Regions from separate parts of the Homo sapiens genome. Here regions 2, 3, 4, 5, 6 and 7 are each linked to region 1. Evidence: promoter capture Hi-C in 16 types of primary human blood cells and fetal thymus (Javierre and others, 2016). All regions are on one chromosome and are shown on one strand. The core of a region is centred on a gene start or on the middle of the fragment in contact, and the rest is flanking DNA. Distances in the headings are between cores, read along the strand shown.

Region 1 (3,505 bases), core at 124-2,623:
TCCACATAGAGTATGTTTTCTTCCATCCTGCTCCAAAAACAGTATTAGAGACCCACAATCACGTCAGTTCCTAGACCTCGTCATAGCACAAGCCAACAGATAGACCCCACTGCTAAAGGAGCAGAGAGAACCACTGTCAGACCAATTCGGGAAGAATTCACGAAAAGCTGGAGCCCCAGGGGTGATGGTAGCGCCATCCCCAGGGTCTGATCACTTAGCTGGGCACAAACACCTACAAACTGAAGGCAGCTTAACAAAAGAGGAACAATGAGAACGATAAAAGCTACTTGAAGGACCACCCTCCCCATGTTGTGTAGCTTTAAAAAATGGTCCTATAGGCCGGGCGCGGTGGCTCACGCCTGTAATCCCAGCACTTTGGGAGGCCGAGGCGGGTGGATCACCTGAGGTCAGGAGTTCGAGGTCAGCCTGGCTAACATGGCAAAACCCCATCTCTATTAAAAATACAAAAATTAGCCGGGCGTTGTGGCAGGCGCCTGTAATCCCAGCTACTCGGGAGGCTGAGGCAGGGGAATCGCTAGAACCCGGGAGACAGGATGCAGTGAGCCGAGATCGCGCCACTCCACTCCAGCCTGGGTGACAAAGCGACACTCCGCCTTAAAAAAATAAAAAAAAAGAGGTCCTATAGGCAACCAACTGGCACAATCTCTGCGGGAGCCAGTGTCCCAGGGCTCAATCTTCATATGTGGCATCATAATACGCCTACTGGAATGAGTGCTTGAAAAAGTTAAATGGGAAAAGCCCATAAAGGTCAACATAGTGAACATGAATCTTCGACAGACTAGAGATTGAGGAAGAAAGCTCAATTCCCTTCTCTCTCTCTGAATGGTGGTGCGAGTGGCTGAAACTGATGATGCGTGTCCTCTCAGGCCGCGGAGGGTCGATGCTCCCTCTCCAGTGTGGGCGACCCTAAGTGTCACGGCTGCAGAGACCCGGAAAGAAAAATCACAGGATTCTAGAAACCGCATCTTTATCGGTGCAAGATACAGCCACGAGGGTGCCCAACTCTAAAATCGTGGCAGTGGGCTACATTTAAGTAGCTAACACTTCCAGGTCAAAACAAACAAAGGTTTTTTTAATGTTAAAAGTTCGCCTGAATCTCTTCGTGACGCCATTTTCTGCCCGTGACGTCAGGGGGGAGGCGCCGTGCAGCAACGTCACGCATTGGTGACGTCTGGTGGGGACCGGGTTTTGGGGTTTCTCACCAGTTCCGGGTCCCCGCAGGGGGGTCCCGGTTCTCTCCGTTCCTTTGAGTATGTTGTGGGGAGTGGAGCTCGGATAGTTCCTAGAGTCTAGGCAAGAAAAGCAGCACTGCAGGTACAGAGCCTCCTCTTCCCGCAAAATGGCGGCAGCTCTGCCGTCTTCCAGAACCTTCCCCAATCTGCGCATGCGCCAAGACTCCCCGGCTTTGGAAATAACCTCACTGGTTTCGCGGCAACCGTCCAAAGTACAGGTTCTCATTGGCTAAAGTCCTAAGTATGGGTGGAGCAAACTCAAATGCGTCTTAGCAACCACCGAGTTCCCATTGATTGGCTAACCTCAGAGACTCCAGAAAATGGAAGCGTCCTTTGGTAGCCGCCCATCACTCTCTCATTGGTTAAATGACTTGCGGAGGGCGGGGAAAACGGGACTGAAAACGGGAGTGAAGAAGCCACCAACCCCACTCCTGGTGCTCGCGTAGACTAGACCAGTGCGATGGGCGGAGCCAACGAGGAGGCACAATTTACATCCTTGGCCGTCCCTACTCGGATTTGCTGAAGGAGTCACGTCGGTCGTTAAGGTTAAGCTTTGTAGAGAACAGCGGCGTTTGTTTAACGTCCGGGGATGCTGAACTCGAAATCCCCGTTCTGAGCCGGCTACCTAAACAACCTTCCCGACCACCTCTCCTGACCTCGGTGCTTGGGACCAGGGAAAAGCAGATCTTGCCACAGACTTGTCTTGGCCCACACTCTGCCCTATCGTCATGGCCTGCTCCCACAGGTCATAACTTCCGTTCAAATCAGTACCCCCACATTTCCCACTGCAAGGGTAAATTTGAAAGTTTCTCAGGTGACTCCTTGGATGTAGCAGTACTGAGTCCTCTAACCGGAAAGAAGGAACTGATGTCCACCCTCACTTTCCAGGGGCCTCCAGGAGCCCCTAGACACTTCTGTGGTCTACTGTAGCTACCAAAAATGTAGCTGGTTATAACATGGGGAGAGCCAGAGTCGGAGGACCTGACTTCCAATTCTGACTTGGATACTAATATCACATCATTGTACCCATTTCAAACTCCCCCTCTGTAAAATGGAAAATTGGACTAGATGATCTCTTAGGACTTCAAACTGTAACCCTGTGGTTTTATTCAAAAAAAACAGGTAGCTTCTTGCTGGAGATTCCTGGATGGATTCCAGTCTTCCCAAGAGGTAACAAAGGAGAGGTAACCAGTTGCCCGTGCAGTAGCTCAAGAATACAGAAGAGAAACTGGCTTCACTCACTATTCCATCTTTTTCCAAGGTGGCAAACTCTATGCCTCCTCCCCAGAGAAAAGCCTAACTGTAGGTTCTAATGGACAAGAGCTCACTGTAGCTGGTCAGAAAGGCCTATATCCAGGACTACAATAGTCATTGCTCAGCTTCCTAAGTAGGGAATACAACTAGGCCCCTTTGGGTCTTGGATAGGCTAAGAGGACAGATCTGAACATGCCTGGGTCTAAGTGAGGTGTGGGAAAATAGTGGCAGGGGGCAGCATGGTCGTGCAGTAAAGGGCTATAACTTTATTTGTATTTCCTCTTACACAAAACCATCAAAACAAGAACAGAAAAAGGCTGAAAATCCGTTCAAACCCCATGTTCTCAGGGATATTCCAGGGAGTTCTTGAGGCTGAGTGCGTAGCTTCAAATCCAGCACTAATTCCTCACCCCCTGGCCTGAGGTCTTCATAGATTGGTGGCTTGAGCCCTGCAATTAATTATAATCCCTTGCCCACCTTGATGTAAGGCAGGAAAGCAGATTGAAATGCTCCTCTCTGATGGGCAAGGGGAATCACAGCCCATAGATGTACTGCACCTTCTGTACTACAGGAGCAGAACCTGAAGCTGCTTCCAAGGCTCTGGACACTTGGCACGCAGGGCTAGAGGCCAATGGTATATGAGCGGCCTGTGGGGTTATGAATAGCAGAACAGACTGGTGCTGTCACAGCCCACTCATACCACACCTTCTTGGAATTGCTGCATCGCCAGAAACGCACACAGATGGTTTGGCCTTCACGTACCGTTATGGGCTGCTGTAAGAAGAAAGACAGGAAGGTTCAGGGTGAAGCTATGAATTATACATGGCAATGTATTAAGGTAGGTGTGGAGATAAAATGATAAACATGACAAGACTGTCCCAACCCTCATGAAAGTTATTTGAAGCCTATCAGAACACAAATAATCAAAGGTGTGGTGAGAGCTGTGAACATGTACAGAGTCAGAAAAACACCTATGAAAGGGAACACTAACCTAGTCT
Region 2 (3,980 bases), core at 424-2,923, 1.5 Mb before region 1:
TGGGACTACAGGCACGCGTCACCATGCCCGGCTAATTTTTTTTTGTATTTTTTGTACTTTTAGAGACGGGGTTTCACCATGTTGGTCAGGCTGGTCTCGAACTCCTGACTTCAAGTGATCCGTCCGCCTCCACCTCCCAAAGTGCTGAGATTACAAGCGTGAGCCACTATTTCAGTTTTAAACTTTCTCCTAAGCCTGTCTCTTCAAACTTGCCTACTCTCTCTTTGGCCAATATCTTTCACTTGCCTTCAGATCCACTGACACGCCTCTCTTGCAGCAGAAGGTCTTCTTACATGGAAAATGTTTTTCTTATCATAACTCTTTTTTTAAGGGTTGGGATAATTCCAAAGTACTTGAAATAAGTTTCTCATATCTTGCTCTATGAGGTTGACTAGAATTTGTTCTGAAACCTATTGGATGACCAATACAAAAGAAATTCCTAAGCAGAAGACACGATCTAATTAACTAACACAGGACACGATTCAAATCACAAACTCACTTTCGATATGTAATGTGCCCCACACCAGATGACTTCAGCATATGCTAACCTAGGCTGAGAATCCTTGACTGAGTCGACAAACTCAGAAAAGCATGGAGATGAAACGATCTGTAGACGCCGCTGTGATGGTAGGATGCAGCAGACACTGATAAGGCAGCTCCCCTGGCTTGTGTTTGGGGCGCTCCGCTGTTTATTCTTTAATAGAAAAAGACAGAGTTCTAAATCTTTGACTTCTGGCTCACTTTGCTTAGCCATACGAAAGAGATGGGTCCACTATATACCTTTTCTGTGAAGACCCTAACCGCTTCAAGACTGTCCCTTAAAAAGCAAGAGGCTGCTGCATTTATACAGCTGCTGCAGGGAAATTCCCTGCGACACTAGAGACAGGTAAATAAACTGCATTCGTTCCAAAGCAGGGGGAAGGGTCTTCTATCAGTGACGAGTTTACATAATGCAACGGAAAACCAGTGAGCTCTGCAGACCTGTCAAGGAGGATGCAAGGCTTGAGCTCCTCTCTTCCCACCATCTCTAAACATTCTCCAACAGCCTGCTCTTCACTGCCAGGAGACCCACAGAACTTACACCTGAGAATGAGTAACAATCTGCTTACGCTTACCCCATGCTTTCCTACCCACCTTTATTATTAAAATACAGAAGAAAAAAAAATAAAAAGAAGTAGAAAACCCTAACCACCTATTTCTGAATCCAAAGTATGGAGTAACCAAACGGGGCCGAGGAGTTTTCCCTTCTCTGAAGAGAGGAGAACAAGGCGCCGCCTCCAATCTACACTACGCCCAGTAATGCAATGACAAGCCCTGAAAACTCCACAGCGTCCCAAGCAGTCCCTCGCGGCTCGGCCCGGCTCGGACCCCGCGGCCCGGCAGCCACCCTCTCCCCCGGCCTCTCACAAAGGAGACTGGTTCAGTCCGGAGCATCACCCCGCACCTGATCCCTCACAACTGGGGGGCGAGCAGGGGGTGGAAGAGAGAGGAGAAGGAGTTACTTAAATCAAATCTCTGAGAGCCTCAGCTTTTGCTGACTCCTGGCCCAGCACTGAGGAGCGGGTGCGAGCGGGAAGCCTACCTGTGCAAGTCCTGGTACTTCCTTTCCAGGCAGCGTTTCAACTCACCCTCTCCGAGAACAAGGCGCCTTCCGGCGGAGCATGGCCAGCCCTCGCCTCAATCTAGCTTGCTAGTAGTCCATTCTCCCTAGGCTCCGCCCCCCTGCGCTCCCATCCGCCAATGGCAGCACCGAAGCCCGGCCTCTTCCAGCGAGCTAGTGTGAGCGCCATCCAGGAAGTCTCTTGAGGGTGGAAGGTCCTAGGAGGATGAGAAGGGTACGTAGGCGACCACAAATATGCCTGATTGAAAATAAAATCTGGCGGCGGCTCGCCTCTGACGACTCAGTTCACAGGCGGCCAGGCCCCTCGGCATCTTTTTTTGACCCCCGCCATTGGGGGCGCTGTGAACTAAAACAACACTTAGTTACCTACTTCTGGGAAGCCATCTTGGCTCGGACTCCGGGACTGGGTGAGAGTGCTTAAAGAATGTGAAGACCCTGTCGGTGTTCTGTCCGACTATCTAGGTCCAGCCCGAACATACTCTGCTGTATACACTTAGGAGGCCCCTCAGTCACGACGTGAAACCCTGGAGTAATGCCGTATGTGGTTACGGGCAACAACCACCACCACCCTCTCACTTAACTGTAGGAGTAAAGCAATTTTAACAAATCAAATAAGCAAAAATTAATTCTTCTAATGAGAGTGAAAGTTGCACTTTCCTAGGGTAATCCTTTATGGACACCTCACTCAAAATATCAGGACATGTATCTATTATAGGTGCTACTAAGCTTTAGGATTCACTGCAAATTTTCCAGTAGGGGCACTGTGAATCAGTTGGAAATCAAGAACAGGACTTAAGGAGGAATTCCTTTTTTTTTTTAAAGGCCTAATTTTTTTTTTTTTTTTTGAGATGGAGTCTCGCTCGGTCACCCAGGCTGGAGTGCAGTGGGGCGATCTCGGCTCACTGCAACCTCTGCCTCCCGGGTTCAAGCAATTCTCCTGTCTCAGCTTCCTGAGTAGCTGAGACTACAGGCTCCCGCCACCACGCCCAGCTAATTTTTGTATTTTTAGTAGAGACGGGGTTTCGCCATGTTGGTCAGGCTGGTTTCGAACTCCAGACCTCAAGTGATCCGCCCACCTCGGCCTCCCAAAGTGCTGGGATTACAGACATGAGCCACCATTCCTGGCCAAGAAATCTTTTTTAAAGTTGTGAGTGAGGGAATCCTTCCAGATTATTAAAGGAATTTCTCAAGGAGTAACATAATTGCATGGTCTTACATGATAGGAGCTCAGAGACATCAAGAAGTCATATGAGTGATAAGACTCGGCCTTAAGCTGGGCGCAGTGGCTCACGCCTGTAATCCCAGCACTTTGGGAGGCTGAGGCGGGTGGATCGCCTGAGGTCAGGAGTTCGAGAGCAGCCTGGCCAACATAGTGAAACCCCGTCTCTAGTAAAGATACAAAAAAAAATTAGCCGGGCGTGGTGGCAGACACCCATAATCCCAGCTACTCGGGAGGCTGAGGCAGGAGAATCGCTTGAACCCAGGAGGCGGAGGTTGTGGTGAGCCAAGATCTCACCACTGCACTCCAGCCTGGGCAACAAGAGCGAAATTCCATCTCAAAAAAAAAAAAAAAAAAAAAAAAAAAAAAAAAAAGACTTGGCCAAATACATTTCCCTGTGTATCAAAATCTGTCAGCCAAGACAGGCGCGGTAGCTCACGCCTGTAATCCCAGCACTTTGGGAGGCCGAGGCGGGTGGATCACCTAAGGTCCGGAGTTCAAGACCAGCCTGACCAACATGGAGAAACCCCGTCTCTACTAAAAATACAAAAGTAGCTGGGTGTGGTGGTGCATGCCTGTAACCCCAGCTACTCAGGAGGCTGAGGCAGGAAAATCACTTGAACTCGGGAGGCGGAGGTTGTGGTGAGCCTAGATCATGCCATTGCACTCCAGCCTGGGCAACAAGCGGGAAACTCTGTCTCAAAAAAAAAAAAAAAAAAAATCTGTCAACCAAATTCTCTCCTGGCTACTGCTGCCATTATATCAATTTGATGTTAGTATTAAGATTTATCAGAACAATGTGTTTGTCTGTAAATGCATATACAGATATAACCTTAATTATTAATAGTTTCTAGGATGAGAGCCTATTATCCATCTGGTACAGAATAGACCTGTCATCAAAGGAGCTATAGATATTATGGAAATGGGAACAGGTGTGCCTGAACCAATTTCTGGTACCTACACTGATCTTAGTATGATTTCCAATGGTCTTGGCCTTCAAAAACCAATGGACATTGGTAAGACTATAGATGGAAAAAAAAAAAAAGTGGACATTATTTCATAACTACCATTCTTCATATGGGGTGGCATATCCACTTTTTATAATTCTTCATGACCACTTCACTCAGAATACAGATGATT
Region 3 (3,807 bases), core at 1,106-3,605, 1.8 Mb before region 1:
AGCTGAATTCCCCAGCACGGAAAGTTTCCCCAGAAGGTGGCCTAAAATCAACAAAACTCACTGAGATACCTTCTTAGGCCCAATGAAGATCTGAATCATCTCCATATCAAACCAGGTTCCAGACACCTGATCCCATGATTTTTTTCTCAGTAGGGGAAAGAACTGACAGGGACTGGGATACTATGAACTGCCTTGGAACCGAGGTCATGCATATATTGCCCCTGGACAATAATCACAGAGTTTTCTATAGTCAGGCCTTAAACACCATCCTCGAGACTTGGCCAGACAGCAGCACTGACCTACTTTCCACCCCCACTGGGAATCAGGGGTTATCTTGCCCTTATTTGGATTCTATAAGGATGCGGGGCCAGGGATAGATATCAGAAACCTTTCAAAAGCAGTAGGCCAATTATCCTTACATGCTGGGGCAGCTGGTAGGGAAGTGGGTGTGGACCACTAAACCTTACTCAGTAGAGAAGGATGGAATGGTTGGTGAAAAGACTTAGAAACAACAAGGACAGGTACATAGAAGTATTTGCTAAATGGACCACAAAGACTGTCCCTCAAGTCTTGTGATTCAAAAGTTTTTAGGGTCAAAGTGTAAGGAGCAAGGGTTCAGGACTTCTGGGGTCCAGTTGTAACTGCCTCTGGTCACCTCTAACACGATGGTTTTCCCTCTTGAGAATCCTAGACCTCCCAAATCTGCTAACAATTATGATTACCACTGCACTAGATGGGGTTAAAAGGAAAGGGAGCTTCTAGGGCGGTCTACGTTCAAAAGACTACCTTGATCACACAGACACACCAGTAGTTCACTTTTATGGTCTCCTCTCCATGGCCCTCTGAACCTCACTGCTCAGATAGCTCCTCCTAACCCGCTCCACTCTGCAGCTCACCAGCCTTTTTAGACTGAGATCTTGGTAAAGCCTCCTTCCCTCTGTCCTCACTCTCCTGAGTTAGGGACATGGAACCTCAGCCATGGACTTCAAAGGTACAGCAGGAGGCGAGAGGAAGGCACACCTGCTCACCTGCTGCCATCCCACCATGGGGAATCTTATCCCAGAGGCATGTCCTAACGCAACCCCGATTTTGATTTTGAAAGTTCTGGAAGACCTGGGTTTGGGAAAGAGGGGCATGTAGCCAGCCCTAAGTCCCTTTAAGTGGAGCTGACCCTAGAAAAGTCAGTCTTAGCACCCACGTGAGCCTCGGTCCTCAGACTGGGAGGTAGGGGCGATCAAGGGAGCCTCTGGGAAAATCCCCCTCCCAGAAATAGATTGCTAAGTAGGGTAGGACCTGCTATCCTGCCGGAGAGGTTTTTCCAGCAGCACCCCAGACCCCTCCCCAGGAAGATAAGCCAGAAGGATGATGGGGGGCAGGGTTGGGAGATAGGGAGGCCAAGGCTCAGCTACCCCCGGCCAGGAGAACAAAAGCTGAGTTACAGCCGCCTCCGCTGCTGCCGCGGGCCGAGCTCTTTGTGACACTTTGTTTGGGACGCAAAGAGGGAAGCACCCCCCATCCTTTCCCCTCCCCCGCCACCCCGTGCTTCCAGAGAGTTTGGGCTCCTTCCCCCTCCCCCACCAGCCCTACCTGGGCCGGGGGTTGGGGGGTGCACATCCACTCAGGCTCGCGGCTCTGCCGCCCCTCACCCCCAGGTCCCTCGCGCCCTGCCTTCGGGCCCCTACAAAGACACCCGCCACCTCCCCCGCCACATCCCCCCCGTTGGCCCTTCCCTTTGGTGTCTGCTCCCCCAGCTCTTCCACCTGGCCCCCCCTCCCTTGGGGCCCCCCAGCTCTCCAGGCTTCCGAGGCCGCCACCCCCACCCCGCCCCCCCAGGAGCTCTGGGCGAAGTTTGCTTGGGGCCGAGCCGGCGCCCCTCCCCCGCCCCCGCCCCCTGCACCTGCTCCGAGCCGGGCGCGCTGAGCGGGCCCCCCCTCCGGGAGGGGGGAGGGGGCCGGGGGCGGGGGCCGGGTGGCGGACGGGGGGGCCCGGGAGTCGGGGGAGCGGCTACTCACGAGCCCCGGGCGGGCGGCGGCGGAGCGGGCGGCGGCGGCGGCGGCGGCGGCGGGCGGCGGGCCGGCGGCGCGGGCGTCAGCGTTACGTGGGGCCGGGGGAGATGCGCCGGGCCCCGGCCCCCCCGCCCCCGGCCCGGCCCCCGCCCCCTCCCCGGTCCCCCGCCCCCGGCCCTGGCCCGCATTGTGTGCGGCGGGAGGCGGCCCGGCCATTAGCATGCGGGGGGCGGCGCGGCGGGGCTGGGAGCCGCGCGGGAGCCGGGCTCTGGCTCCGGGGACAGGGAGCTGGGGACCCCGGGAGCCGCGAGAGGCGGCCGCCAGGGGCGGGGTGCGGGCGGTTTGGAGACGGGGGGCGCTGTCGGAGGGAGGGAGGAAGGGAGGGAGCGGGGGTGGGGCGCACAGAGGATTCCAACAGGAGACTGGAAGAGATTTTGAAAGGTCATCTCGTCCTTCCCCCAGCCTCCAAGCAGCACTGCCCCTCCCTCCCTAAACCCGGACATACCAGGGAAGGAGTTGGCTCTGCCGCTCTTTCTGCCCCAACATGCACAGACTCGGGAAGTTCTTCCTGGGGTTTTATCTCAAAGCCTCTCCCTTACAATTTCTGTCTCTCTTTTGGGGGAGGAGGAGGGGCGATTATAGAGATAGTTAATGTCGGCCGTATAAGAAACATTATTAAAGTTACTCTTCGGTCCTTTCCGTTCTTGATAAACAATTCCTGCGCCTTCCTCTCGAATTCTATTTTCCATTCCTCAAGTCACTTTAATGGCTCTTCAATACAACAAATATTTACTGAGTGCTTACTAAGTGCCAGGCACTGGGCTCAGCGCTGTGAGGGATGAGAAAGAAGTGGTACCTTCCTTCCAGGCGATTGTAGTCTAGACTACAAACTGGTAAGTAGTATACTCAGATTTAGTCAATATTTACTGAATGCCTGTTCACCTATCTAATAGTATATAATCTTTCCAATAACCCTCTATAATTAAATTAGCCCCCATTTACAAGTAAGAAAAATGAGGCTTCAGGAAGTCTGTTTCCCCAGTGGCCTGCAGGCTCGGGGATCCTCAGTGCAAGCCCAACATCTCACATCGCCACCAAATAAAATCAATGCACGTGGGAATTGAGGAGGAGTAGACACACAGCAGTTTTCTGGATCTCTTTAAAACGTGACTCCCACTCCCCGGGAAAGAAAAGAGTAGATACAATGACCCGCCGATGTTGGCACAGCACTGATGGGGCAGGAGTGGCTTACAAAAGATCACTTGCCTCCCAGGACCCTGCCTCCCTCCTCGTACTAACTTCTAGAGTCTTCTGGCGCAGTCTCCTCTTATCGTCAACAACAAGAAATAATAATAGTGATGATGATCATAGCCACTAACATTGAGCACTTGTGTACCAGGTACTGGGCTAAGCTCTCTTCCATGCTGAAAGCAACCCCTTGAGACTGGTATTATTAACTTCCTTTTATAGATAAGGGAACAGAGAGATTAAGCAACTTGCCAAGGGCACCTAGGTAGATCTGGGATTTGTTTTGATCTATAGAGTATATTTGGGCCCAGCTGGTTCTGCTTCCGACTGTAGAAATGTGTCCCCAGCTTCCTTCTGAATAACACTTTTAGTGTATGGGCATCAGACTTATCGGTGTGACCTCATCAGCACCACTAATAGTTATTAAACACCCACCCTGAATCAACAACTCTTCACAGTCATATTGTTAGCCCCCTTTTATCAGTGAATAAACTGAGGTGCGAATAGGTAGAAAAACATATCTATCAGGACAGACACAGTGGCCCACACCTGT
Region 4 (4,040 bases), core at 69-2,568, 1.4 Mb before region 1:
TTTTGATGGCTTCACTACCTACACCAGCTCTTGTTACTTCTCTTCATTGTACAGACTGTAGATTCATTCATTTGGTTTCGTACATATATCTTATCATATTCCTCACTTTTTGTAAGCGTCTCCCCTTGAATCCTATGCTTTTTAAACTTCTTGAGGACAGGGGCAATTTCTTCCTTATTTTTGTCTAATTAGACCCATGAACACTGTAGATACTCAAGAAAGGTAATTAATTAGGTGGGAGGATCCTGCCAGTGCATCTTCTATTTCTAGGGGCCAGAATACGAGCACATGAACCTAACATGATCTAGACAAGATTTAGAGATGCAGTTGAAGATACTGACAAATATTGGAACAATCTACCACAAAGGTGATACTGAGTCACTATTTTTGCAGAGCTTTGTTACTAGTTTGCCTTAAATAATTCAGAGTTTGTCCTGAGGGTAGGGAGTGGATAACAGTGAATTTAATCTTTTAAATTTCCTTCAAGTTTTATGATCGTGACACGGGGGCAACAGGAGAAGAGAAAAAGTTTGGAAACCAAACACAAATGTTTTCAGATTCCTGCTAGGTATGTAAATGGCTAAGTCAATGCCGGTAGGGGTACTCATTCAGAAACACCCAGTGCCACTCTGTACGGGCCACTAAATTGGGCACTGCGGATATAAAGGTTCATTCCTCGCTTACTGTACCCACAGCTGCCAAGAAATGACCACTACAAAACAGTCGTTATAACTGAGGGAACAAAGCGCCAAAGCAGCAACAAAAAGGGGTTCTTGCTGCTTCGCGGGATAGGGGGCTGAGCAGCCTCACAAAGGCGACGTCCTCGCAGTCTGAAGAGGAGTGGGCAAGGCGGACGAGGGTGGGGCTCAAGCGTCCGTCCGGTAAAAGTGAGCTGGAAGAACCGAGGCCCAGCGTGAGGAGGAACCGCGAACTACTTGCAGAAGGGCGAACGTCTGCTGCTGAAGGTGGAGAGGGAGTACCAATGTACGAGGCTTTATAGAAATGGCCGTTTGGTAAAGGGCAGTGACTCTGGAGCTTTTTCTCTAGGGATCCCGCCCGTCCTCCCCGGTTGAGCCTCGGCCCCAACAGCCCAGTGCCTCACCCAAGTGCCCCGAGTCCTGCTTCCGCCTCCGCTGCAGCCTCTCCCGCAGAGAGTCCAGCTGCTTCTTGTGGGCCTGGATAGAGCTCCACGTGTCCGACATCCTAGTCTCCCAGCCCTGACACCTCTCGAATAAGGCGCGGCGGACTAGCACCTCCCAGCACTCGCTCCAGGATATAGCCAATTCTCACGCGGACACCCCGAAGGCTAACCGGAAAATGACCCCTGGAGCTGAGCAAGACAGAAAAGTCATTTCCGGTGTCGCGCTTTCTTGGAAGCTATAAAGAGCCACGTTAGGTGTTGGCAGAGCGGCCGGTATAGTCCTCATACCCGCTCTCTCATGCTTCCGGACACAGTGAGGCTGTGGTTGCCATGTTGGTGACTGGCAGAGCGGCCATGTTGCTTATAGACGCGCATGCGGCCATGTTGAATATTCGGAGAGGAGTCCTGAGAGTTGACTTGTGTTAAAGTAGCACTCGTAGAGAGCAACACCATATAGTACAGTTTTGGGGGTTTTTTTCTTTTTTTTTTTTTTGAGACGGAGTTTCACTCTGTCGCCCTGGCTGGAGTGCAATGGCGCGATCTCGGCTCACAGCAACCTCCACCTCCCGGGTTCAAGTGATTATCCTGCCGCAGCCTCCCGAGTAGCTGGTATTACAGGCGCCCGCCACCACGCCCGGCAGATTTTTTGTATTTTTAGTAGAGACGGGGTTTCACTGTGTTGGCCAGGCCAGTCTCGAACTCCTCACCTCGTGATCCGCCCTCCTTGGCCTCCCAAAGTGCTAGGATTACAGGCGTGAGCCACCACACCCGGCCATAGTACAGATTTTTAAGATGAAGGATCACTAGTTCCTTTTGACAGTTTGGTACTAACATACCTTTTCCACTGAAGGTGGTGTTGGTTTGTTTCCATGCGTTCATTTACAAAAAAATAAAAAACACAACGGTGGTCCCCAATCTGAGGTGAGGAGGGGGCGGTGGTGGGTGCGGGCATGCTTCTTTGTGTTGACGAGGCGTGGGGAAGTGGGGAGGGCTGATGAAGGAAAAATCCGAGAGGTCTTCAAATACGTGATCTCTCTCTTAGGCTAAATTTACAAAGTACGTGTAATCTATTAAAATCGGGTTCCGACACTAAGAGGGCTTTGAGGTCCTGGTTGCGTTGTGTTTTTTGTTATGAGAGCTACCTGCATGAGTGTGTTCAGTTTGTGAAATGTAATTGAGCTGAACATTTTGGTGTGCACTTTTCTGTATGTGTAGTAAACTTAAATACAAGGTTGGTGGTGGTGGTTTTTCCTACAATCCTTTCTTTCTTTCTTTTTTTGACACATTTTCTTTTTTTTTTTTTTTTGAGATGGAGTCTCACTCACTCTGTCACCCAGGCTGGAGTGCAATGGCGTGGTCTCAGCTCACTGCAACCTCCGCCTCCTGGGTTCAAGCGATTCTCCTGCCTCAGCCTCCCGAATAGCTGGGATTACAGGCGCGTGCCACCACACCTGGCTAATTTTTTTTATTTTTAGTAGAGACAGGGTTTCACTATGTTGGCCAGGCTGGTCTCGAACTCCTGACCTCGTGATCTGCCCCTACGATCTGCCCCCCTGCCTCAGCCTCCCAAAGTGCTGGGATTACAGGCGTGAGCCACCGAGCCTGGCCTGACACAGAGTTTCATTCTTACTGCCCAGGCTGGTGTGCAGTGGTGTGATCTCAGCTCACTGCAACCTCCACCTCCTGGATTCTAGCTGCCTCAGCCTACCTAGTAGCAGGTATTACAGGGACCTGCCACCATGCCCAGTTAATTTTGTATTTTTAATAGAGATGGGGTTTCACCATGTTGGCCAGGCTGGTCTTGAACTCCTGACCTTAGCTCATCAGCCTGCCTTGGCTTTCCAACGTGCTGGGGTTACAGGCATGAGCCACCGGCTTGGCCTTTTGTTTGTTTGTTTGTTTTGTTTTTTTAATGGAGCTCCCTGAATGGAAACATTTCGGGAATCACTGACTTATCCAATGTCTACATGATGCCATACGCTGTTGTCCAAAAAATACAAAAAATAGTTTGACTGGCATGGCTCCTGTTTTCAAAGAGTTTATAATCTGGTCAAGGAGCTGTGAGCCAGTTTATTAATACTGAACCATCTTCACAGCATGAGGTAGCATGGGCATAGACTTTTTAAAAAACAAAAACAAAACAAAACAAAAAAACAGGAAAAAAAAAAACGTGATTTCAAAGAAGAGGAGGACTCCAAGTTTAATGACCCAGGAAGGCATTGGAAAGAAGCTGGAATCAAGGTTCAGGCTTAAAATGACCACTAAGGTTTCAGTAGGTGAAGGTATAGGAGGGAAATCCAGGTCTGGAATATGATAAAGGCAAAGGTCTAGACTAGAGGTAGGAAAGCGTGATGTGTGTTATGCCAATCTGGATTAGTTCGCCAGAACATAAAGATTTATATTTGGGAATATTGGGAGAAATTTTAGGTTTCCAAATTTGAGGCCAGATTGTAGAAGGTACATGGTACCTGAGTAAAGACTTGGCAATTTATTCAGAATACAATAGGAAACACTTAGGGTTTGTAAATAGGAATGTTTCAAAATTGATTTGCTGTTCTAGATAAATTGAGGTGAGGAGGAAGGAGATTTTGGAGAGGACAAAGATGGTTATTAGTCCATTGTAACTAAGTGTCTGATGAGAAGAACTGTAACTAAAAGCTGGTTATGAACAGTAATGAAAAGGAAGGGGTGAATATGAAGGGAGCTATTGAAAGATGTATGTGTATTGTAATATGACTTTTATCCATTCAGTAAGTATTGAGTGTTTACTATGTGTTAGATACTATGGAGATTTAGTAGTGATGAAAATACTCATTTCCATCTCATTTTCTGAACTTAATTTACTTTTAGGGAATTTACACTATCTATTGGGATGTGTAACTTTGTTTTTTTGTTTTTG
Region 5 (3,819 bases), core at 1-2,500, 1.3 Mb after region 1:
TAATCCTGGCCATTTGGGAGGCCGAGGTGGGCGGATCACTTGAGGTCAGGAGTTCGAGACCAGCCTGGCCAACATGGTGAAACCCCATCTCTACTAAAATACAAAAATTAGCTGGGCATTTGTAATCCCAGCTACTCGGGAGGCTGAGGCAGGAGAATCGCTTGAACCCGGGAGGCAGAGGTTGCAGTGAGCCGAGATTGTGCCACTGCACTCCAGCCTGGGCGACAGAGCAAGATTCCTCAAAAAAAAAAAAAAATGGGTTAGAGAAAATAGCCACATAATAGCCTTCAAACCAGTCTCACCTGCAGCTTCGAGGCCAAATCCACAGGAGCCTCTGACAGCTGCTTCACCTGCTGGTAAAAAGTTTCCTGTGCCTCCAAAATCTTCCTCAGATCCTGCTTTGTCTGTTGAGGATACAGAAGACAGAGAAGTTAGCACCAACATCCAGTAGACAGGAGGAGCAACTTTGCTGCACCAAGTGTAACTGGGGTCAGGGCTTGTTCCGGGGATTACTCACAGCCTTGGGATCCCGCACTATAGGTCCAGATTCTGGAAAGTGGTGATTCAGGGCTTTCAGGACTTGGGCCCAAGGCCGGCCCTGCAGGATCAGCTCCACCACCACCTGTACGGTACTGAATTCAGAATCCCCACTTCGGGGCAAGCTGACCTTTTCCAACTAGTCTCATCCCCAAGCTGTGGGCCCTTGTCAGGTGCTCGCATCCCGCCCCTTTCTTTCTTTCCCCTTCCAGGTCCTACTTGCTCCAATACCTTGGCCTTTAGGCCCATACAAAGGCGTTCGTGGTGCCGGTAGCGAACCAAGCCAGGGGCAACAGCGCGCAGAGATCGCAGAAACTCCAGTACTCGCGGAAAATGTTCCACGCAGCGTCCGCGCACAACCTGCCAGCTAGCCGCGGCGGCGAAGCGTAGAGCTGCGGGACCCGCCACCAGGGGCGTAGCCATGGTCGGCGGGCTCCGCCCGGAGGCGGTCCCTCCGGGTTCCTCACCCGGATGGGTGAGGCTTTCCGATCACTCCTAGGGGCGGGGCTTCTGGCAACTCCCTGTCGCTCCGGTCTGTCGGCTCTGGGTACCTCGCGATCTGACTCGGCTCCCTTCCATCGGCCCCCAGAATTCTGGGGGAGGGGGTCTTCTGGCTCGGGCTGGAGGAGCCTGAGTGGAGAAGCTGACCGTCTCCAGTGGCACTGGGTCGCTCAGCTTTAAACGTCGCCGCTGTCTCGAGCCCGAGGGTGCCTCACTTCCGGCTCCGCTACTAGCTTCCCTTGCCCCGGAAAAGGGCGGTAAGAGGGAGCCAATGGGCGGCCACAGAGGGAACCGTGACGGTGCGTCAGAAGGCCACGCCCCAGCGGAGCTGTAGCTGCCCGCTTCCTGCACTCTCTGCCGGCTGACATGAGTTGGCGGCTGAGGCTGTCGTGGCCGCTGAGGCTGTTGTGGCCGTTCGTCTGGGTCCTCCCAGCCTTGCTTTCTTCGCGGAGCCTGCGGAGAAGCCCCGTCACTCCCGTGAGGCTCGACTTCCTAGTCTGTAAAACGAGGATCATGCCACCGCCCTTTCCCACTGTCTTCACCCATCGAAATTTAGTTCTTTAAATTCCAGACCCGAGCCGGCGTCTACAAAGCCTTCCCCTCTGCGCGCGTCGCTTCCAGTAGGAATTCGACTGTTCCTTTTATAAAACAGAAGAGGGCGCCCGCCCTTAAAAAATAAAATACAGGCTGGGCGTGGTGGCTTGTGTCTAATCCCAGCGCTTTGAGAGGCCGAGGCAGGAGGGTCACTTGAGCCCAGGAGCTCCAGACAAGCCTGGGCGACATGGTGAAACCCCTTCTCTGCTAAAAGTACAAAAATTAGCTGGGCGTGGTGGCAGGCGCCTGTAATCCCAGCTACTCGGGAGGCCGAGGCAGGAGAATCGCTTGAACCCAGTAGACGGGAGGTGGCAGTGAGCCGCGATCTTGCCTCTGCATTCCAGCCTGGGCGACAGAGGGAGAATCTCTCTCAAAGAAAAAAAAAAAAAAAAAAAGAGGAAGAAGAAGAAATAGAATACAGGCTGGGGGCACGGTGACTCACACCTGTAATCCCAGCACTCTGAGAGGCCGAGAGGGGAGGATCGATCCGCTTGAGCCCAGGAGTTCCAGACCAGACTGGATCACATGGCGATAACCTGTCTCTACTGAAAATCAAAAAAACTAGCCGGGCGTAGTGGCACGCCTGTAGTCCCAGCTACTCAGGAGGCTGAGTTGGGAGGATTGTTTGAGCCAGGGAGGTTGAGGCTTCAGTGACTGCACTCCAGCCTGAGTGATAGAGTGAGACGGGGTCTCACACACACACACAAATTAGTTTCTTGTTTTAGGATTCTGTTGTGCACTGAACTTGTCAGCCCCCTAATGTAATTGACTGCTCTCCTTGACTGTCTCTTCCACAGGCTTCCTGGTGCCTCTCATTTCCATCAGCAAGCACAGAACCTAACACACAGCTTACACTCCTTAATTGTTGGCTGGATTAGTTGCCTGCCTTGACCACCTTACAAGGATTTAGTGAAACTGCTCCGTCTTTAGCCCATGTCTTCCATTCCCAGAGATAATGGTTCACACATCCTTGTCTCCGCCCCGGATCAGTCTCAGCTGATCCGCACATTCGACTGCCCAAGAAACACCCAGTCCCAAAGTACCCCAAATTGGATATGTGTGAAATTCTAGTTATCTTCCTTTTTCCCTTTATTTATTCCTTCTCTAATGTTCTTTCTTTCTTATGTAGATATGAACTTCTGTTGTTTTACTTTTTTTTTTTTTTGAGACGGAGTCTCGCTCTGTCGCCCAGGCTGAAGTGCAGTGGCGCGATCTCAGCTCACTGCAAGCTCCGCCTCCTGGGTTCACGCCATTCTCCTGCCTCAGCCTCCCGAGTAGCTGGGACTACAGGCGCCCACCACCGCGCCCGGCTTTTTTGTATTTTTAGTAGAGACGGGGTTTCACCGTGGTCTGGATCTCCTGACCTCGTGATCCGCTCGCCTCGGCCTCCCAAAGTGCTGGGATTACAAGGCGTGAGCCACCGCGCTCGGCTCTTTTTTTTTTTTTGAGGTGGGGAGACAGTCTCGCTCTGTTGCTCAGGGTGGAGTGCAGTGATCTTGGCTCACTGCAACCTCTGCCTCCTGGGCTTAAGTGATCCTCCTGCCTCAGCCTCCAAAGTAACTGGGGCTACAGGCATGCACCACCATGCCTGGCTCATTTTTTTCTATTTTTTGTAGAGACAAGTCTTTGTTGCCCAGGCTGGTCTCGAATTCCTGGACTCAAGCGATCTTCCCACCTCGGCTTCCGAAAGTGTTGGGATCGCAGGCGTGAGCCACTGCACGCAGTCCCTGGCTAATTTTTTAAAAAATCTTTTTTGGTGGGTGTGGTGGCTCATGCCTGTAATCCCAGAACTTTGGGAGGCTGAAGTGGGAGGATCACTTGAGGCCAGGAGTTTGAGACCAGCCTGGGCAATACAGTGAGACCCTGACTCTACAAAAAAAAAAAAAAAGAAAAATATGTTTTGTAGAGAAGGGGTGTCTCTCTGTGTTGCCCAGCCCAGTCTATCTTCATTTTTTGTTTTTTGTATTTATCCTGCTTGCTGCTCTCTGAGCTTCCTGGATCTGTGTTTTGTGTCTGTCATTAATTTGGGGGAAATTCTCAGTCATTATTGCCACATTTCTTATGTTCCTTTATTTTCTTCTCTGCCATTCTGATTATGTGTATGCTACAGCTTCTATAATTGTCCTACAATTCTTGGATATTCTGTTCTTTTTCATTTTTTTTTCTCATTGCATTTCAGCTTTGGAA
Region 6 (3,522 bases), core at 76-2,575, 1.3 Mb after region 1:
AGCTCACCTCAACCTCCGCCTCCTGGGTTCAAGCAATTCTCCTGCCTCAGCCTCCCAAATAGCTGGGATCACAGGCATGTGCCACCATGCCTGGCTAATTTTTTGTGTTTTTAGTACAGACAGGCTTTCTCCATGTTGGTCAGGCTGGTGTCGAACTCCCAACCTCAGGTGATCTGCCCGCCTCGGCCTCCCAAAGTGTTTTGATTACAGGCATGAGCCACCGCGCCAGGACTTCTTTTTTTGAGACAGAGTCTCGCTCTGTTGCCCAGGCCAGAGTGCAGTGGCATGATCTCAGCTCATTGCAACCTCCGTCTCCCGGGTTCAAGTGATTCTCCTGCCTCAGCCTCCCTGAGTAGCTGGGACTACAGGCACACACCATCATGCCCACCTAATTTTTTTTTTTTTTTTTGAGAATGGAGTCTCCCTCTGTCACCAAGGCTGGAGTGCATTGGTGCAATCTTGGCTCACTACAACCTCCGCCTCCTGGGTTCAAGCGATTCACCTGTCTCAGCCTCCCCCAGTAGCTGGGACTACAGGCGCGTGCCACCACAACCAGCTAATTTTTTTTTTTTTTTTGTATTTTTAGTAGAGACAAGGTTTCACCATGTTGTCCAGGCTGGTCTCGAACTCTTGACCTCAGGTGATCCACCCACCTCGGCCTCCCAAAGTGCTGGGATTACAGGCGTGAGCCACCGCGCCCGGCCAATTTTTATATTTTTAGTAGAGACGGGGTTTCACCATATTGGCCAGGCTGATCTCAAACTCCTGACCTCATGATCCACCCACGTCGGCCTCCCAAAGTGTTGCGAGTACAGGCGTGAGCCCCCGCGCCGGGCTAAGAAGGCAGTCTTTCTTCTTCACCTTAGATCCCTCTTGCCCAGCACAAAGTATTATAGAACAAGGTTTTGAAAATGGCTGAAGACAGCAGGAAACTCGTCTTCAAGCCTGAACAGTGGGAGTCAGCACGATCGCCACGCCCTCAACTCAAGTCCCCTCCCAGATCTTGAGTTCTTCCCTCTGAGAGTGGGGGAGGACGGCGGACGGGAACAAGGCGCCCCGACATGGTGTGCCTTTTGGCACCGGCGATGAGCCTTGCTCCGCCATCGGCCGCCGGGGTTTTCCAGTCAGCCTGTCTCCTGATTCTCTTCCCCTGCCCGGCGCAGCGGTCCGGCCGAATCTCGCCGGGGTCTCCTCTTCCCCTGCACCAGCCAGCGCCTCCTGGCTGGCCAGTCCCACCCTGGCTCACCCTTCCCGAAGAGCCTGCCGAGACCACTCATCGCGAGCTCGCCTCTCCCGCCTCCGCCCCTCAGCGTCCTCCAGACTTCCGCCTTGCTCCTGGGAGGGTGATGTCTCATCACACAGGGACCAGCCTTGCCCAATCCGTCCTCAGGGCGCCGCCGCGACATCAAGAGGCGCAAACGAGACCACCGGTGTCACGTGACCCAAGCCACCAGCCCCAGACCGACGCGCTCCTCTTAAAGCTGCCACATCATTTTCTATTAAGTAAAAAGACAGTTCTATCTCCACCTGAGTACGTGCTTGTTCTCCGGAAGGAAATGTGCAGTGTGATGGCACCTCAGTGTATGGGGTCAGTGGGAAAACTTCATGCTCTTTACAGAGCTCAGGAAAGTGGGGTGGTATAGGTTCAAGCACTTGGGGTTGCCCTAAGTTTAGATGGCAAACCTGATGCAGTCTAATGTCTCACATTCTGGTCTCTGCACCTCAGGACAACCAACCCCATTTCACAGGCTAGAAAAATAGAAACTCCCCACACTGTGGGTAAAATCTCTTCTGTCACACACAGATGAACTTTAATAAATTACAAATGCACCTGAAAATGCCTTCTTGATTTCCTTTCAGTTTAGGCCTCAAATGGGCTCTCCTCAAGGCTGGACCTCAAAGGCCCAGTTTGGGCCTTCGCAAATGTCTCTAACCCTTGACTTAGAGTTTGAAGATTCATTCCATTCTGGATGTGAATGCAGGTAACACCTAGAAAGATAAGAAGTCACATTTCATTAAGCTTTCAGGGTTCTCCATTATTACTCTGACCTTTGTGAGTGCCACCTATAGGGCAAACTATCCAACCTGTATGTATCTACCTAATCCCTCCTAGGGACCCCAAATGGCTGTTCCTCATCACTCAGTACCCAGTTTGCTGACGTCTACAATATTCCGCCTCTCATCATCAAAGAAGATCATCTGGGAGAAAGGAATTCCAGTCTTCTGCTGCAACCTATTCAAGACAGGGCAGGAGTAACCAAGCTAGTATCTTGGTTTCCCAGGCCTCTCTGATACTTTCTCACCCTGCTCCTCCCTTATCTCCGCATACCTCTCAAAGTGTGTGATCTTGCTGCCTGGATAGATTTCCCGATGAACAAAGTACCTGAAGAGGTCAAAGAGCTCCAGTAGCTGGTTGGCCCCTTCTATCTCACTTGTCCTGCAAAACGGTGTAAAAGATGGGATTAGCAAAGTGAAGGGCCAGGGCTACGTTAACTTATTAAGCAAAGTTAGTAAGTATAACCAGGGAAATCAACTTGCTGTTTTTCCGGGATGGACAGGCATCCTCAGCCTCTGTTTAACTCCATTGCCTTCCTATTTGACACAATTGGTGCTGGGCCAATGTTTTAGCTTTTGTTTTGAGACAGGGTCTAGCTCTGTTGCCCAGACTGGAGTGCAGCGACCCAATCACGGCTCACTGTGGTCACGACCTCCTGGGCTCAAGTGATCCTCCCACCTCAGCCTCCCAAGTAGCTGGGACTACAGGTGCACGCCACTACAATTTTTTTTTTTTTTTTGGTAGAGATAGGGTCTCCCTCTATTGCCTAGGCTGGTCTCAAATTCCTGGGCTCAAGTGATCCTCCCACCTAGGCCTCCCAAAATGCTAAGATTACAGGTGTGAGTCACTGTGTCTGGCCCCACTTTTTTTTTTTTTTTTTTTTTTGAGACATTGTCTCACTCTGTCACCCAGGCTGAAGTGCAGTGGCTCCATCTCAGCTCACTGCAACCTCCGCCTCCCGGGTTCAAGCGATTCTCCTGCCTCAGCCTCCCGAGTAGCTAGGATTACAGGTGCGTGCCACCACGCCCTGCTAATTTTTGTATTTTTAGTAGAGACGGGGTTTCACCATGTTGATCAGGCTGGTCTTGAACTCCCGATCTCGTGATCCACCCGCCTCGGCCTCCCAAAGTGCTGGGATTACAGACGTGAGCCACCGCGCCCGCCTGCTGGCCCCACTTTTTAATAGTTAAAAGGCACAGGAGAGCGTTCAAGGGAAAAAATATGTAAATACTTGGAAACTTGCACCGCCCCTATTTTTGTAGACCAGGGGTTTCACTGTCTCTTGCATGCACCCTTCAGCATTACACTGTCAGTTGTCAGTCGCTCTTCTTACCTTGAAGCAGCCGCACCGGGCACCCCAAGGCTCTGCAATCGTTTTAGGACCTCAGGCACCTCTGGGTACAGTCGGACGTCTTGGCCCCGCCTATCTCGTACAGTTCCATCACTGGAGAGGGCAAGAGTGCGCT
Region 7 (3,663 bases), core at 1,164-3,663, 1.5 Mb after region 1:
CCCTTCTGCCTGTGGCTGAGCCTCCCACCCTAGCCCATACGGTGCTGGTTCAGCTTCTGACGGTGCTGGCTGAGATCCGTGATGCTGGCTTTCCTCACAGGAAGAAGCCTGCAGGGTACGCTGAGGCTTGTCCATCTGGGCTCCTGTGGGGGCCTGTCAGGCTCACCTGCGCCACCTGTCCCTGATCAGCATTGAGCAGGAAGCTGGGGTGGGGGAACCGGAGGAGCAGAGGCCGCAAAGTAGTGCAGATCTTCCTTCTTGCCAAACCTTGCCCTGATCCTAGGGCTGCAGGCAGGAACAGATGCAGCAGGTGGCTGGGAGGGTAACTGGGGGTGGGTGGGTGGAAAGGCCTGGTCTGGAGATGCCACAGCTCTACTCTTCTCTTAAACTTGGGTGTTTGGCACAGGGTCCCATGCAAAGAGGTGGGATAGGAGCCAGAGGGAGTCTCTCTCCTGCCTCTGCTGTTTCTGGGGCAAGAGAGGGCAGAAGAAAGTTGTCAGGGGCTGGATTCTTGTGCTTGAAAGACTTGGGTCCTCAGAGAGGGAAGATGAGGAAGCCAGAGAAACTTGAGTATTTCCAACCACCCAGTAGATTCCCCCGACGCAGGCGCAGAGACACTCGGTCCCCAGGGTCCAAGGGCAGTAGCACAGAGCTGGTGGCTGCCTCCCGGGTCACGTCAGGATCATTGGCAAAGGCTGAGATGACAGGCCACGTGTTCAGCATCAGGCTCACCTGGGGAGGGGAGCCCAGTTAGCCCCCATTCCCCAGCCCTTAGCTCAGGACCCCCCACTTTCCCAGGAGCTTCCTCTTGGGAAGCTGGGTTTTAATGGGCTCTCCCGGGAGGGCTGAGGGGCGGCCAGCATTGGACTCTGCACATCCTCCACACTCAATGCAAGGCAGGCCCATTCCTCCCCTGGTCCTGGCCTCCAGGACACAGGTCAATGGAGAGTCCACCCGGAGGTCAGCTGGGCTCCCCTTCTTCCCCCTCCCCACCCTCCTGAGCCGGGGATGGGGGCCAGTGCTGAGGTCACCTGGACAGTTTGGCGGTTGTACACCTTCACCACATGGAACCGGAAGCTGTAGACACCCCGGACAGGGGCTACGAAGGAGCCAGAGGCCCGGTCAAAGCCACCGCCCTCGTTCACCAGGACCTGGGGGAAGCAGAGCCTGCTGAGTGGGGCTCAGGAAATGCCCATGGCTCAGGGGTACCATGGGGACTAGGGGCAGGGGCAGTGAGTAATGAATAGAAGGAGTGGCAAGTAGGAGTGAATAGGAGTGAACAGATTCAAAAGAAATGGTGAGAAGGGGCAAGGAGAGGGCTGCGTATGGGTGGAGGGAGGGGAAACCGTCGGTGGGGTGGTGGGGCAATAGGCCAGATTAGTGAAAGATGTAGGAAGCTGTTTTCTTAAAGCCTCAGAGACAGCAAAGTGGGCTTGGACAGTTGCTTCCAGGTCCTTGCAGGGTCTTTCCAGGTCCCCTGGACAGGGGTAGGGGGATTACCTGGTCGAAGTAGATGGCCCCACTGGTGCCATTGCCGGTTTCCCCTGCTGGCTCATGGTGGTGGCTTCGGACCGCAGCAAATGCCACTCGCCCAGGGGGTGCCTCTCCCAGGGCTGCTCCCCCGGGCCCCCCTGCAGCAGCTCGGCCAGGCTCACAGACCACCAGGCACTCCCCCTCCAGCAGGACGGGCTCTGACCCCTCCTGGGCCCACCCGGCCCCCAGGGCCAGAAGCACCAGAACCAAGGGCAGCCCGGGACTGTGTAGGGGACCTGGTAGCCAGTGTGGCTTGGCTCCCAACATGGCTGAGGGGCTCTGCAACCCACAAGTGCCCCGGTCTTCTGCCCCTCTTCTGTTTCCGCTCCTCTCCCTGGATTCTCACCGCCGGCACCCTGATCGTCTGCCCTCTCTAGGCTCGCTGAACCCCCTCTCCATACCTGTGTCCCAGCTCTGTCCTGCCTCCCACTCTTACTCCTGCTGTCACTGCAGTTCCCTCCTCCTTGGCAGAGCATGCAGTGACAGCAGTTGGGCTTTGGGAGAGAAAGGAGGGATGAAGCCGCCTGCCCACTGGACGGGAGGGCTGCAGCCAGAGCTTCAGGGCAGCCCTGCTGGATGGGACAGCACTGAGGGCTGGACCTGGGGGGATGGAGAACATGGTATGTGTGTGTGACGGGTGTGACAGAATGTGTGAGTGTGTGCATATGCCAGAGGCAGCCCCTCAACCCCTTCCTCCTACTCTTCCTCTCTTCAAAATCCCCCACAAATCAACAGCCCTTCTTCGTGGCATCTTTCCGTTTGTTGGAAGAAAGGGGTACTCCACCACGGGTACCCTCCGCCTCCCGCCTCCCGCCTACCCCCTCCGCCACGATTGCTTTGGTGGAAAGTGCTTGGGCCTAGAGCACCAGTGGGCCAGTCACGCTGCCTCTTTGGTCGGCCACATCTTTATTCGCGGGAAACAACTTTCAACGCATGGTTCCCCTTTCCGAGAAGTAACTGCGCAGAATGCGCGAGGACCCTGAGGGCCGGGAGACAGACGGGAGGGCTGGTGAGAAGCGCAAGGGGCGAGCCCTGGAGCCGCCGAGGGGACTAGGCCGAGCGGGCCCGTCGGGGCCTCTGGGCGCGGCGGCGGGGTTGGGAGGAGGGCGCGCAGCCGGGAGGAGCTGGGCTGACTCCGCCCCAGGCCAGGAAGTGACTCAAGAAACAGTTTGCGTGCGATGTGGACAAGAGAGGTCCCCGCTGGGTGAGGAACCCGGGAAGGCCCGCCCAGATTCGGGCCCCCTGCCCTTGTCCCCTGGGCTGGGGGCGCGGGCAAAGCGGGGGCCTGGCGGGCGCTGAGAGGACCTGAAGCCGGCGCGGGCGGCGGAGGCGGTAGGCGCGCCCCTCCACCGCGCCCGGGAGCGGGGAGCGGGGGCCGCGGTGCGGAGTAGGCCCGGCCCGGGGTGGCTGCCCCAGTCCGCGGTGGGCGGGCCCGGCCCGGCCCGGCCCCTGGGCCCTGGGCGGTGCTCCTGGCCCGACGGAGAGGGGCAGCGGACGGCTGGGGGAGGGGTGGGAGTGGCTTGAACCTTGGAAATGGCAGACCAGGGCCCCCAGAGGACAGCCTAGTTCAATCCCCTGCTGAGGATTCGTCCTTAAGAAGCTTCAGAGTGCCCCAGGAGACTCCTTCTGGCCTCCAGGCCGAGCTGGAGCCCCCCCACCCTTCTTGCTCCGGACTGTGGTCATCCTTTTCCAAAGCCCAGACGCCCACTCTCGATAGACAGCCTTGTTTACCGGGACTTCCTCTCCGGAGAGGCCTGCGTGACATACACCCTCCCTACCTCCAGTGGACTCAGATGCTTGTCACCTCCTGGGGCTGTTTACCAGAGCCTTAACTAGGTGCGACCTGTTGATAGCTGGTGTAGTCCCAGGAACCAGGATTTGGATGGAGGGTACAATGAGGCTCTGAGCTGCCTTCTCCCCTTCCAGGGCTGGGGGCAGCAGCCATGCCTACCTGGGGGGCCCGCCCCGCGTCCCCAGATCGCTTTGCGGTGTCTGCGGAGGCTGAGAACAAGGTTCGGGAACAGCAGCCCCATGTGGAGCGCATCTTCAGCGTGGGGGTGAGCGTCCTTCCGAAGGACTGTCCGGACAACCCCCACATCTGGCTGCAGCTGGAGGGCCCCAAGGAAAACG

What was found. The method cuts DNA at HindIII sites, captures the fragments that hold promoters and counts their contacts. A CHiCAGO score of 5 or more calls a contact.
Region 2: the fragment with the promoter of CHD8 here is called in contact with the fragment with the promoter of RBM23 in region 1 in 4 of 17 cell types (naive CD8 T cells, total CD4 T cells, non-activated CD4 T cells and 1 more); the score reaches 12.3 in naive CD8 T cells.
Region 3: the fragment with the promoter of ZNF219 here is called in contact with the fragment with the promoter of RBM23 in region 1 in 3 of 17 cell types (fetal thymus, naive CD8 T cells and M0 macrophages); the score reaches 7.4 in fetal thymus.
Region 4: a contact is called between the fragment with the promoter of METTL3 here and the fragment with the promoter of RBM23 in region 1, in 5 of 17 cell types (activated CD4 T cells, total CD8 T cells, non-activated CD4 T cells and 2 more). The highest score is 13.3, in activated CD4 T cells.
Region 5: the fragment with the promoter of TINF2 here is called in contact with the fragment with the promoter of RBM23 in region 1 in 2 of 17 cell types (total B cells and non-activated CD4 T cells); the score reaches 5.5 in total B cells.
Region 6: the fragment with the promoter of CHMP4A here is called in contact with the fragment with the promoter of RBM23 in region 1 in 6 of 17 cell types (total B cells, monocytes, non-activated CD4 T cells and 3 more); the score reaches 10.0 in total B cells.
Region 7: a contact is called between the fragment with the promoter of CBLN3 here and the fragment with the promoter of RBM23 in region 1, in 2 of 17 cell types (monocytes and erythroblasts). The highest score is 5.6, in monocytes.

The regions. Positions count from the first base shown.
Region 1 is chr14:22,917,776-22,921,280 of GRCh38, forward strand. It overlaps RBM23 (RNA binding motif protein 23), which reads right to left and starts at 1,374. Exons shown (of 14, transcript NM_001077351.2): 1 at 1,224-1,374. It overlaps PRMT5-AS1 (PRMT5 antisense RNA 1), which reads left to right and starts at 1,681. Exons shown (of 2, transcript NR_120600.1): 1 at 1,681-3,345. It overlaps PRMT5 (protein arginine methyltransferase 5), which reads right to left. Exons shown (of 17, transcript NM_006109.5): 17 at 2,754-3,281. The coding sequence ends at 3,129. RefSeq lists enhancers at 1-190, 679-848, 919-1,028, 1,119-1,188 and a silencer at 1,449-1,748. The HindIII fragment of the contact is 7,114 bases long and covers 1-1,802 here.
Region 2 is chr14:21,454,450-21,458,429 of GRCh38, forward strand. CHD8 (chromodomain helicase DNA binding protein 8) reads right to left here and starts at 1,674. Exons shown (of 38, transcript NM_001170629.2): 1 at 1,583-1,674. LOC124903283 (a long non-coding RNA gene) reads left to right here and starts at 1,948. Exons shown (of 2, transcript XR_007064064.1): 1 at 1,948-2,028. RefSeq lists enhancers at 1,417-2,106, 1,971-2,522, 2,137-2,186, 2,197-2,246, 2,523-3,074. The HindIII fragment of the contact is 18,756 bases long and covers 1-2,345 here.
Region 3 is chr14:21,096,300-21,100,106 of GRCh38, forward strand. ZNF219 (zinc finger protein 219) reads right to left here and starts at 2,356. Exons shown (of 5, transcript NM_016423.3): 1 at 2,013-2,356. It also overlaps a transcript of TMEM253 not described here. RefSeq lists enhancers at 777-1,278, 2,038-2,538. The HindIII fragment of the contact is 7,101 bases long and covers 1-3,807 here.
Region 4 is chr14:21,510,022-21,514,061 of GRCh38, forward strand. It overlaps METTL3 (methyltransferase 3, N6-adenosine-methyltransferase complex catalytic subunit), which reads right to left and starts at 1,319. Exons shown (of 11, transcript NM_019852.5): 1 at 1,103-1,319. The coding sequence starts at 1,202. RefSeq lists an enhancer at 1,362-1,601. The HindIII fragment of the contact is 13,792 bases long and covers 1-4,040 here.
Region 5 is chr14:24,241,373-24,245,191 of GRCh38, forward strand. TINF2 (TERF1 interacting nuclear factor 2) reads right to left here and starts at 1,251. Exons shown (of 9, transcript NM_001099274.3): 1 at 769-1,251; 2 at 518-622; 3 at 303-404. The coding sequence starts at 960. RefSeq lists enhancers at 1-19, 680-899, 970-1,229, 1,400-1,699 and a silencer at 1,891-2,185. The HindIII fragment of the contact is 13,864 bases long and covers 1-3,819 here.
Region 6 is chr14:24,212,163-24,215,684 of GRCh38, forward strand. CHMP4A (charged multivesicular body protein 4A) reads right to left here and starts at 1,326. Exons shown (of 6, transcript NM_014169.5): 1 at 1,247-1,326. The coding sequence starts at 1,277. NEDD8-MDP1 (NEDD8-MDP1 readthrough) reads right to left here. Exons shown (of 7, transcript NM_001199823.3): 4 at 3,390-3,500; 5 at 2,330-2,437; 6 at 2,148-2,233; 7 at 1,781-1,989. The coding sequence ends at 1,862. MDP1 (magnesium dependent phosphatase 1) reads right to left here. Exons shown (of 6, transcript NM_138476.4): 3 at 3,390-3,500; 4 at 2,330-2,437; 5 at 2,148-2,233; 6 at 1,781-1,989. The coding sequence ends at 1,862. RefSeq lists enhancers at 735-854, 809-1,617, 1,045-1,544, 1,181-1,475, 2,630-3,368. The HindIII fragment of the contact is 5,751 bases long and covers 1-2,018 here.
Region 7 is chr14:24,427,255-24,430,917 of GRCh38, forward strand. CBLN3 (cerebellin 3 precursor) reads right to left here and starts at 2,414. Exons shown (of 3, transcript NM_001039771.3): 1 at 1,501-2,414; 2 at 1,032-1,151; 3 at 1-732. The coding sequence starts at 1,800. The coding sequence ends at 535. It overlaps KHNYN (KH and NYN domain containing), which reads left to right and starts at 2,700. Exons shown (of 8, transcript NM_015299.3): 1 at 2,700-2,865; 2 at 3,460-3,663. The coding sequence starts at 3,477. RefSeq lists a silencer at 2,537-3,076 and enhancers at 3,107-3,286, 3,431-3,663. The HindIII fragment of the contact is 4,979 bases long and covers 1-3,131 here.